Linked DNA regions of Homo sapiens: regions 2, 3 and 4 are each linked to region 1. The links are contacts of gene promoters, found by promoter capture Hi-C in blood cells and fetal thymus (Javierre and others, 2016). All regions are on one chromosome and are shown on one strand. Each heading gives the region's core, a stretch centred on a gene start or on the middle of the fragment in contact. The rest is flanking DNA. Distances are from core to core; before and after follow the strand shown. Region 1 holds the start of SCGN (secretagogin, EF-hand calcium binding protein). Region 2 has its middle 55 kb from the start of CARMIL1. Region 3 has its middle 39 kb from the start of CARMIL1. Region 4 has its middle 91 kb from the start of CARMIL1.

Region 1 (2,916 bases), core at 41-2,540:
GTGCGTATCTTACTAAGAGGCATAAATTAAGGCTTAGTGTGCAAGTACTTACATCAGTACCCAGTTTCATCAACATGTGGAGAAAGAAAGCATCGAGTTCCTTCTCTTCTATGTAACCTTTTTCTAAATGTGAGAAAATAAACATAAATAATACTAACATATAAAAAACACATGACAGTATTTATCTAAATATGTTTTTAATCTCACAATTCATAAAGCTTCCCTCAACACTATTTTTTGTTATTCCAATAACAAAGTGCCAACACCTACCTCTAGAATACATGGGTTTGAACAGTAAACACTGTTCCAGAATACGTGCTTTATGCTAGGGTTTATATTAGTGCTTGGAAAAGGAAGGCTATTAAGTACATGAATTTTAATCAATGAATAAACGTGAACTTTCCAATAAAATTTAACCCCAAAATTTCTGAAGCTTGGAGAAACTTAACAGGTGTAAGTATTGAATCCCAGTTTGCAGAGTTAAAACACACCTTTTAGATATTTTATTTCTTTATTAATAAAAACAAATATTAAGTAGTTCCATTTTATTTTCAAGTAGTTTTTTGGTGGAGGAGTCGTTTTGAAAGCTGATAAAATTTATTCTCATTTTGAGAGAGTGAGGGGTGTACAGCAAAGTCACTGCGTAAAAGTGAGCCCATTTAGGGAAGGATGACTTCAAATAGCTGAGTCTCAGCCCACAAGCCTTGAACATATACAATGATATTAGTCATTGTATATACAATATATATGTATGTCTACCATATATATGGCGCGCTCGCACACAAAGAGAGATTGGAAAGGGGAAAGTGGAAATTCACCACCCAGAATTTTAACAAGGTATATAGATGTGTATCACCAGTATGCCAAACGTCTGTTAATGATACTGTATTAGGTACACTGCATTAACAACCCAGGTCGATAACTTTTCCTACAGTAAAGGGGAAACTCCAGGTCCTTTCAGCGGGCTGAGCTTGGAGCCACGTCTACACCTGAGTGTGCAAGTGGCTTGTTCTACTCACCATCCGCATCAAAGCGCTGCCAGACCTGCCAGAAGCCAGCGGCGTCCAAGCGCCCCAGAGTCGGTTCCCGGGAGCTGTCCATGGTGTTGACGACGAAGACCAGGCACCGGCGCGGAAGGACCTAGACAACTTTGGGAAGGACTCCTTCACCGTATTTCTTGACTTGCTCTCCTGCTTCTTTCGCTATCTGATTAGCTTTGAGTAACTGTTGCTGGGGAGGACGCGAGCGCTGCTGGCCGTGGCGTCGCTGAGCCGTCCCTCAGCCCTCAGCAAAACCAGCGGCTGGAAGCCCGCCCCGCTCCTGGCGCGCCTGTCCCCGCCCCGCCCTGCGCGCTGTCCTGGCAGATCCTGTCTGTCTCTGCGCTTTGGGGAATTCAGGAAGAAAGAAACTGTCTCCAGGCGTCCACGGCTCACTGCTTTTGCCCTTTAACTTGCTTCTCAGACTCGGAGAAGACATCCCTCTTACGTTTGACTCACTTTCCAAACTTGTGTCTCAAGGGGTTTTCTAGGGAGAGCTGCCTCATTTAAAGGGTTGCAAGAAGTGTCAGTGTTAGGGTCCTTTGGACTTGAGGATTTAGAAATGTAGTGTGTGGAGAGGGGAGGCGAGAAGGGATGGTGATGGTGGTAAGTGGTTCCCTTTAAGGAAGAAGTCAACAGCAATTATTGAGTCCTGATTGTATAGGACATACACATTGCTGTACCAAAATGCACTATAAGGACTTGCAACTAAACAGGGATACTGCAAGTCACTGTGATTTAAAGTAGCATCATTAGGATGCTGAGGAAAATATAAACTAAGCCGTACTCTGCCAGGAAAAGAGAGTCTGGGGGAGATGTGTCTGCCTGCAGGGTACTTAGGTAGAAGGCTTAGATGATTGTGTTTGGCTCCTAAGAGCCACATTAAGACCAAAGGATAAAAATCAGTTGGAGGAACACAGAGCTTTCTAACAATCAGGACTGTTCAAAATTGGGCAAGGCTTTGTGGAAACGTGTACAAACTACACTGATACCTTTTGACTATATATTTAGAAATTTTCGTTGGATAATCTATAGAAAGTGCTTGGATATTAGATAAGAAAGTTGAACCAGATGTAACTTTTCTTTATGGCACCCTGACTCTGGTTTTAGCATTCAGATTTATTTATAAAAAGCATGCATGTATAAGTCATCTAAACCAGAGTAGTGAAAAGAACATGACACTCAAGGTCAGATAGTCCTGGGTCAGGATCTGAGTTCCATTATTTACCAGCTTTGTGAACTGCACCATTAGTTCTCATCTCCCTAAGCCTCAATTTTCTTATCTATAAAATGAGGATTAAAACATCTGTTTTGGAGGGTTGCTGTGAGGATCAGAACCATACATAGTAATGCACAATGAATTATATCTGCTATGGTGTTGTAGCTGATGAGGGATGACTCTGTTAGAGAAAACAAGTAAAGTCTAAGAGATTGTCATAGCCAAGAGGAACCTAATGAAAAATGACAAAGAAATGTAATGTTTTATCCTGGGTGTGATGCCGGAACAGAAAAAGGCCATTAGGTAAAAATTAAGAAAATTTTAATAAACACGGACTTTAGTTAATAATAATGAAAAAAATGGTTCAGAAGAAAACAGTTCTGGGTTCAGGGCCCAGCTTTGCCTCTTACTAGTTGTGTGTGATATTGGGCAAGTTACTCAAAAGAAGCCTCACTTTCTTTGTAAAATGGGAATAATAGTAGTATTTACCCCGTGTTATTATCATAAAGGTCAAATTAAAAAATCATATAAACCTATTGTCACAGTATATACAGTAACATTCAGTGTAAGTTAGCTACTAAAATGATGAATCTTCCATACATACATACATATTTGGAAGACGGTGAAGTAAACTTCAGGATTTTTGAGGAGTGTGGCTTA
Region 2 (3,091 bases), core at 139-2,638, 430 kb after region 1:
TAGGATTGCTGGTGTGAGCCACCATACCCAGCTTGTTTCTTTTATTCTCAGAATATTCTTAATATTCTCAAGAACATTCTTGGCCTCCCTTCCCTGCCATTTATAATGTTTCCTCCCTTGGTTTCTTTATTTTCCTTCATTCACACTCTGATTGCACCATTCAGTTTGACTCAATTGTAGTCAAATTCAACTCACAGGCTTGTTAACCCTAGTTTGGTGAACATCATAAGTCTTTCAGATGCTGGTTGGAAATGCACCTCCTCAATCCCTAACACTGACATTTAAGCAGCAGAAAGAAGAGGAGCAGCCCATGGTGAAGGCAACTGGAAAGGTCAGAGACCCAAGGAGAGATAAGATGAAAGTTATCAGTGGTGCCTAATGAAGAAGAACTGTTCTGTGAGACAAGGACTGAGAATGTTCCTCATGAGGACATCATTGATGACCTTGGTGAGAACAGTCAGCAGAAGTTTGAGAAATTATTGGGAGGTGCTGAAGCTGCCACAAGTACAGACCAAGCTTCTGAGAGAGTTGGATGATGACAGAAGGAGAAAGTGAAAAAGGGCTCAGGGTAGAGAGGCTTTTGTTTAGGATGGGAGAAGCTAGAGCAAGCCAATGTCAGCTGGGGCCTCCCTGGCTCTGTGAGATGTTGGTCCATCTTTGTAAACCTGGTCCAAAGCCACAGTCCAAGATTCCTTTTATGATTTCCCTAAATTTCTGAGGCTTGCTCCCTCATGCTTCTCTTTGTGTCCCCTGCCACATCTGTACCTGTGGTTTCAGATCCATCTTGTGGCACCACAGTGCGAATCTCAGCCTTCTCGCCAGTTTCTACACAAACACTCATGTTAATGGTAATCTATTGAGTTAACAATTTAACAAGGAACTTTAAGGTAGTTTGGAGGTGCTCCTGGAGAGGGGTTATACGCCCAACCACACTGCCCTCTGCCATCCTGCTGGCTCCTCCTCCGTTTTTCCCAACTTCCTCCTCCTTTAGAGCAAGGAATTACTTTTCTTGTCTAGAACTGAGTGATCAACCCAGAGTCAAGGTCTCGCCTTCAACCTCAATGGGCTTATCCATGAATTTTTCTAAGAAATCTCCAAAAGGAATTTTCATGCCATTTGCTAAGAGAATTCGATTCTCCTCTAATATGTCCTCTTGTCATATTAGCATTCGGGGGTGGGGGCGGGGCAAACAGTTTATGTAGACACAGAAATTGATGCATGTGGTGAAATGCTGGGAGACACCTGGAGGGGAGAGGAGGGCAGCTGTTCTATTTCTTGTGATTGGTGGGACAGGAAGCAAGAATGAGTGAAAATGAAGATAAACCTGTATGGGGGCAGGATGTGTATGGGGGTGGGATGGAAGAGTGAAGATTTGAGGGTTTGTGGGCTCAGTAGTCTCTGTGGGGGCAAGATCACTTGCTGACAGGGGATGGACAGAACTGAAGGTATGAGATTCTCGCTATAGAGAGGAGTGAGGGAAGGAGAAGGGATGAGGGGAGAGATGCTGTTTTTAGATAAGGAGAAGTATTGACAAGATGAATGGAGTATTCTTCTGAAATCGGAAAGTATACCTTTGTGAAGATACCAGTTCCCACGGTTGTACTTCTCTCTAGAAGCCCCAAATCACTAAGATATAGAAGCAGAGAAGGGGGATTTCAGGATTAATCTGGGGTTGGAGCTTGCAGAGCAGGACAGTGTGAGTTCTAGTGCTTTATTCTGAAGTCCTGGTGAAAAAGGGAAAATTGAGTAGGAAGAAGCCTGCCCATTAGCACTGGGTTGACATTCAGCTCCACTCTGGACCATGTTACCTTGGTGATAATGAAAGTGGAAGGAGGGATGCTTTTCTGCCAATTTTATCTAAGCGTCTTGGGCAGTTTTAATTTAAACGTATGATACTACCTCCATTTTTTCCTGGTATGATTCCTTTCATTTAATTAGGCTCTATTGGTGGAAAGTAGTTGATCTTTGATGACGTTGTTATCTCCTGAACATTATTATATCTCCCGCTCTGGTTTACAGGTTTTTCCTGACTCTTCTCTTCTGCATTACAGCTCAGGACTGCCACCCAGTGGCCTGTTAGCATAGAGCTCTGGAAATGCTGATTTTTTTCTTTAATACAGCCACAGAATAAGACAATAAGAAAATATTTGCTTCCTTGTTGGGGAAAGTAAAATGCAGAACTTCCTATTTACCAGCCAAACAAAAGAAGAATGCATTCTCTCAGGACCTCAGGGACTGTCAGAAAATAAGAAAAGCTTTTTTGACCTTAGTAACCTTTGACATGGTTCTCTGAGACCAAGTGTGTTTAGCCAGGAATTTATACTAAACAGGGAATGGAATGAAAGCAGGATCAGGATTTTGAAGAAAAATACCTCTCAAATTGGGGAGAGTTAGGCAAAGAGATTCTGAATGTAAAGTCATTTGGGGAAGACATAGGCCCTTGGATAAAGCATACTTTTTTTGTTTTCCTATTTTACTTTCTTCCTCACCCTTTAACACATGGAAGATGGGTCCCTGTGTCCTCCAGGTCTGATAGGAGTTGTCAGACTGCCGTTGTTTGAGTTACTTTATTTATTTGGAATTTCTGGATGTGAGAAGCTATGGAAGCCAAGTTCAGATTCAGCCATTCTAATTCTCTTATAAGATATCCTCTGTGAAACAGTGGTGTACATTTCAGTTTTGTTTTTGTAAAAATTGAGTATCAAAATTTTAAAATCCTACATGTTTTATTATCAAAAGATCACTTACAGGCATAAACTCTAGTATAATTTTTAATTTTTTGAATTGTAGATTGTCTTTTTCTTTTTTATCATAGACACTCTGAAAGCTAATTGGGATGACAGAGAAGAAAAAGAGAAAAGAAAGAATCTCGAATAAGAGGCCCAGTGGCCTCACTAGAAGGATGAGAAGATAAGACTTGCTCTAGAGGAGGAAAAATGGCAGCTTCCTTGCCCACTAAGGGGAGACACAGAGACCCTTGAATGCAATGTAGAGTGTCCTTCCTTAGCCCTTATAGCGGTTCTTCAAAGTTGCAACTGTTCCTACAAATGTTATTTACAGCCTGGGACTTCATTAAGCCAGAATATTTCCC
Region 3 (2,810 bases), core at 29-2,528, 410 kb after region 1:
ACTTTCCTTAGTCTCTTCCTAAACCAAGAAGTTCTTACAAGGTATTGTTTCTGGAGAAGGCCAGAACCATTTGTCTTCTTCTGTGCTTCCAAGGCCATATCCACGTCTGAGATCCTGCAGTAGTTTTATTTTCAGTTGCAAGTAACCAAAAGCTTAATTCAAACTTCCTTATACAATAGAGGGAAATTATTCTTTTAGGTACAGATCAATCAGGGTTAAATTTCTCTTTAATTTTGCCTCTTGTGTGTTGGATTTATTTATTTATTTATTTTTTTAGACAAGTCTTGCTTTGTCACCCAGGCTAGTGTGCAGTGGTGCAGTCGCAGCTCACTGTAACCTCTGCCTCCGGGGATCAAGTGATTCTCCTGCCTCAGCCTCCCAAGTAGCTGAGATTACAGGTGTGCACCACCACGCCCGACTAATTTTTGTATTTTTAGTAGATACAGGGTTTTACCATGTTGACTAGGCTTGTCTCAAACTTCTGACCTCAGGTGATTTGCCTGCCTCAGCCTCCCAAAGTGCTGGGATTACAGGTGTGAGCCACTGGGCCTGCCCAATTTCTTCTTTTTTGTTTGCTTTTTCTTTTTTCTTTTGAGACAAGGTCTTGCTCTGTCACCCAGGCTGGAGTGCAGTGGCATGATCTTGGCTCACTACAACCTCCATCTCCCAGGTTCAGGCAATTCTCATGCCTCAGCCTCCTAAGTAACTGGCACTGCAGGCATACACCAACACGCCTGGCTAATTTTTTTGTATTTTTAGTAGAGATGGGATTTTGCCATGTTGGCCAGTCTGGTCTTGAACTCCTGGCCTTTAGTAATCTCCCTGCCTTGGTCTCCCAAAGTGTTGAGATTAGAGGCATGAGCCACAGTGCCTGGCAATTCTTCAAAAACATTTTTTTGTATTGTAAAGTCAGAGAAAATGTGTTCGATTCATTCTGAGGTGAACATACTATATGGTGGCAAAGTGAGGATAGCAGTTCTCCCTTCACATCCACATCCCACACTACACAGAAAGAAAGAAACATGTGTTCCAGAATTGTCAGCAAAAATCCTGAAATTCGCACTTGACTTAGACCACAGACCCATGACTGATCTAATCACTGCAATGAGGGCAATAAGACTTTCTTGGGCGCAGTACATGTCATTCATTTTATCCCTGAAATAATGGGATAGTTGGGGGTAGAGTAACAATAAATTTCCAATAGAAGTGTAGACTGTTGGGAAAGGTTAAGTGGGACATGGATACCAGAGCGTTAACCAACAGGCGAACAACAGGTGAATAATACTGTGTTTAACATGGTCTCTCTCTGTCTCGCACACACACACACACACACACACACAGAGCAATGAGCAGTAACTAGCCAAACAAATGAAACATTAATCATATACAGCATATGTTAGAGCAATATACTCATATAGAAAACAGGAATTTCATTAAATTACAAAACTGTTGTTTGATAAACTAGCGAGGATAAATAATACATAATATTGTGATAGTTTTTCTTTTATCTTTCCTGTAGAAAGTTATGTATGAAAAAAGAACACTGACTTTCTCTTGTACTTTAAGTCTTTAGCATTTGGGAAATTTCCTATTATTCTCAAGTATAGTCACACTACATCAGATTTCAAGCCAAGACTTAATTTTTTAAAATGTTCTAAGAGGCATGGTGGCTTATGCCTATAATCCTAGCACTTTGGGAGTCCGAGATGGATGGATCACTTGAGGTCAGGAGTTTGAGACCAGCCTGGCCAATATGATGAAACCCCAGCTCTACTAAAAATACAAAAATTAGCCAGGTGTGGTAACACATGCTAATCCCAGCTCCTCAGGAAGCTGACTTGGGAGGATCCCTTGAGCCGGGGAGGGGGTTTTGCAGTGAGCCGAGATTGCGCTACTACACTCCAGCTTGGGCAAAAGAGTAAGACCCTGTCTTAAAAAAGTAAATAAATAAAATAAAATGTTCTAAGAGTGTTTCATGCTCATGACTGCATAAGCATTACTGAACCTGGCATTCTGCTCTTGTCTCCTTCATTGTTAGATTAATGTTCACATAAAAACATTTCCATAATTATACCAATAAAGGGTTAGACACCCTCTGTGAGTATAAAAGGAAAATTAAGACATAAAGAAAATATGTGGTAAAGAGGAAAGGGCCAGGTTGAGCAATGGGTGATAAGTGCAAGATAAAACTCATTGAATATAAAAGTTAGAATTACTGAGCTCGAAAGGATCCCAAGAGGTCATCTGATCCAGTCTGCCTTCTAAGCAACAGCACACTTTAAAATTACTGAAAACTAACAGTTAATTGTATTCTGTGTAGCACTTTTTTTTTTTTGGCTTTTGAAAAATTGATCAAACAGTAGGGATAAAGAAAACCCTAATTAATTCTTAATTCAAAGCTTACTGTATTTTGTGGTTCTAAAATATTTTGAAAAGGTTTTAAAATGTCAAATCCCTGCCAGATAGAAAGCAGATATTCCAAAATAAATATTTTACTGTTTTCTCTGCCAGTGTGATATGAGACAATAATTTATTACCAGGAAAGCTAAGGGAGGCCCTTGGAACCAGCATCAAAGTAATAATCCTGTTTCTCTGAGACTTTTGGCAGACAGTTTGTTCTTTAGTTTTCCTAGAGATTGTTAAGCACACAATTCAACCAAAACACTGACAATTCAAATTAATTATATTTATCAACAACTGTCACATACTTTAGGAAAGTATATTACTCTTCTGCATATCCTATTGATCTGTTAACATAATTTTGCACAACACTATTTGCTCTAGCAACTCAATTTCTGCTACTAAACGTT
Region 4 (2,804 bases), core at 157-2,656, 460 kb after region 1:
ACCACATAGAAAGCATTCGTAGGGCAACTACTATGTTTGTAGTAAGGTGCTGTAGGGAAGATTATGGTCATAACAACCATTCCTTCAACAAATACTTAAAGTGTGCCTACTAGAAGCCAGCCATCATTGTAAGCACTGTGGATACAGAGGTAAATGTGGCAAAATTCCTTCTCATGTGGAGCTTATGATATACAATGGGACAGCACGGTGCAGTGGCTCATGCCTGTAATCCCAGTACTTTGGGAGGCTGAGGCGGGTGGATCACCTGAGGTTGGGAGTTCAAGATCAGCCTGGGCCAACATAGTGAAACCCCGTCTCTATTAAAAATGCAAAAATTAGCTGGGTGTGTTGGCGTACGTCTGTAATCCTGGTTACTTGGGAGACTGAGGCAAGAGAATCACTTGAACCTGGGAGGCAGAGGCTGCGTTGAGTCGAAGTCATGCCATTGCACTCCAGCCTGGGCAACAAGAGTGAGACTTTGTCTCAAAAAAAAAAAAAATACAGTGGGACAGAGAGATAATACACCCACCTACCACGCACACAATATAATGTCAGATACTGGTTTAAAAAAAAAAAACTGAAGAAAAAACAGAGTATATGGATATAGGGCTGTTATTATCACATACTTAAGCTTATCATGTAGCAAGTGCAGTACTTAGAAGCTTTATATCCATAACCTCATTTAAACCCCACAACCTACATAGAGTAGGAGTCATTATTTCTCTGTTGCAGATGTGGAAAAGAGGCTTTAAGAGGTGAAGTTCATATATCAAGTAAATGGAAGAGGTGTTGTATTTAAGAGCCTCTCCCCCTCTCTTCCCCCAATTCCCTCTAGGTCTCTCTCCTTTTCTCTCTCTCTCCCTCTTCTCCCTCTCAATTTCAAAACTTAAGGTATTATTCAGTATGATGGAGGCACAGTAGAAAGATGGAAGGTCATGTTAATACATAAAGAATGACCTCATTCTCAGTAACAATGGTCTTGTTATATAATCTGTCTGTCTCACTTTCCTCTTCTGCAGGATAATACCCACTACATAAAGTTTTAGGATGACATGAGAAAATATGTATAAATCAGAAGGAACATACCTCTTATCAAAAGTCCTCAGTACGTATTATATTGCTAAATATAATTGATGGGCATGTGGTGAAGAGACTGATAAATAATTGGGAGTTGGGGTACTTTCTAAGAGGTGCAGGTGGGACCTGATACACAAAGCATAAGTATATGGAGTAGATTGGGAGGGGCCTCAGTGTTTGGAGAAGGATTAGGAGGACATCAAAGCAAACCTTTGGTAGACTGTGTGAAGAAAGATAGCACCTTGATATTCAATAAAACTGTTTTCCAAAGTCAACAGCCATGAGTATTGTAGGTTGCTTTTTGGATCAATGAGAAGAATCTCAACTGTTGCTTCAATAGTGGTTCCTCAAATTGCCTGACAATCAAACTTATCTGGGAAACTTCTTACAAAGACACATTCAAAGTTCTGTGTCCTCCAAGGTGGAAATTTCCATGGTAGTATAAAAGGAACAAAACCATTTGTTCACTGCTATAACCCCAAAACCTAGAGCAGTACCTGGCATGTGTAGGATATTCAACTAGTGCTTGTTGACTGAATCTCCTTTATTTTTTCCTCCTTCCTATCTTCCTTTTGTTTTCCCCAAACACATAGGACATTCCCCTAACACATGTGAAATGCTCTGTGACTCTGTCCTGCATCTTCCCAGGGGTGGATTATGTGTGGAGAAAAATGTCACTTTGTCTTTGATGGGATTTAAGGGGGCATGGTCATGCCTGCTTGCTCCAAACTCTTCCTCACTCTGTTTGCTAGCATACCAGCAATGTCCACACGGCAGCTATTCCGTGTTGAGATCATGCATTTCCTGAAAACCCCTACTGCTACTACATAACGCATTGCACTGAGAAGGAGAGTGACTGGGTGAAATCACTTTAACTCTCAGCTTCTCACTCATTTGCGCTGGTTAGGCTATGAGAAGGCTTGCTGCCACTTTGAGTAGCAGAGGGGCCAGGTCCTGAAGGAATGAGACAGGGCAGTATTGATGGGAAAGAGCAGGAAGGAAAAGTCCCAGGGCTTAGGGGTGGCAAGCTAGGAGGAGTACCCAGAAAGATGGCTGGTGTGGAGGAAGCTTTTGGGGGATGGTGGCATTTGATGAGCATGGGAGGTGTTCCCACTTAAGAGAGACTTTTCCTGAGCAACACTTTGAGTCAGGTTGGTAGGGTGTTATTAATGGCTCCAAGTGCTTGGTACATAGTTGACTCACCTGCTGAAACACTTGCTGAGTTAGCGGTTCAATTTCACAGATGTTTTTAAGTCTTGGGTATGCAGAGACTGACCTCTGTGTGACTGTCACAGAGCCTGACATTCCCAGAAGACAGATTCACAAGTTTTCACCCTTTCTAGCACTATGTGAGCTCTGATGATTGTTTCCTCACGTTAATTTAGTGGTTCTTCCCCTGACCTTGGGCATTCTCCCACACACATGCACTGATCAGCACTTAGCTGAATGTTTGAGGGGGACCTTCTGTAGGTCTTCAAGTTTTCCCAGGGCAGCTCTCATGTCTTTGGTGCTCTGCCCTAGGCACTCTAGCCACCTTACTCTCCAGACTCTCAGCTGTCTCCTCAGTTCCAGGATACCTCCACAAAGGTGCCTCTTCCCTGCCCTGTGACCTGAAAAAACTTCCTCCAAATAGTATACTGGGGCAATCATTGGCTCACATCATTTATTTCCTGTTTCTTGGAGATCACCATTCTTCATTGTCTAATTTGTTCTAAGACTCGCTGTTT

What was found. The method cuts DNA at HindIII sites, captures the fragments that hold promoters and counts their contacts. A CHiCAGO score of 5 or more calls a contact.
Region 2: a fragment that was not itself captured here is called in contact with the fragment with the promoter of SCGN in region 1 in 5 of 17 cell types (erythroblasts, M2 macrophages, megakaryocytes and 2 more); the score reaches 7.3 in erythroblasts.
Region 3: a contact is called between a fragment that was not itself captured here and the fragment with the promoter of SCGN in region 1, in 9 of 17 cell types (megakaryocytes, naive B cells, M0 macrophages and 6 more). The highest score is 9.5, in megakaryocytes.
Region 4: a contact is called between a fragment that was not itself captured here and the fragment with the promoter of SCGN in region 1, in 1 of 17 cell types (naive CD4 T cells). The highest score is 5.1, in naive CD4 T cells.

What each region holds. Positions count from the first base shown.
Region 1 is chr6:25,650,589-25,653,504 of GRCh38, reverse strand. SCGN (secretagogin, EF-hand calcium binding protein) reads right to left here and starts at 1,290. Exons shown (of 11, transcript NM_006998.4): 1 at 1,020-1,290; 2 at 53-123. The coding sequence starts at 1,101. The HindIII fragment of the contact is 2,826 bases long and covers 436-2,916 here.
Region 2 is chr6:25,222,631-25,225,721 of GRCh38, reverse strand. No RefSeq gene overlaps it. Among named protein-coding and RNA genes, the nearest start is that of CARMIL1, 55 kb to the left of the region's middle. The HindIII fragment of the contact is 1,739 bases long and covers 519-2,257 here.
Region 3 is chr6:25,239,014-25,241,823 of GRCh38, reverse strand. No RefSeq gene overlaps it. Among named protein-coding and RNA genes, the nearest start is that of CARMIL1, 39 kb to the left of the region's middle. The HindIII fragment of the contact is 2,247 bases long and covers 155-2,401 here.
Region 4 is chr6:25,186,587-25,189,390 of GRCh38, reverse strand. No RefSeq gene overlaps it. Among named protein-coding and RNA genes, the nearest start is that of CARMIL1, 91 kb to the left of the region's middle. The HindIII fragment of the contact is 1,483 bases long and covers 665-2,147 here.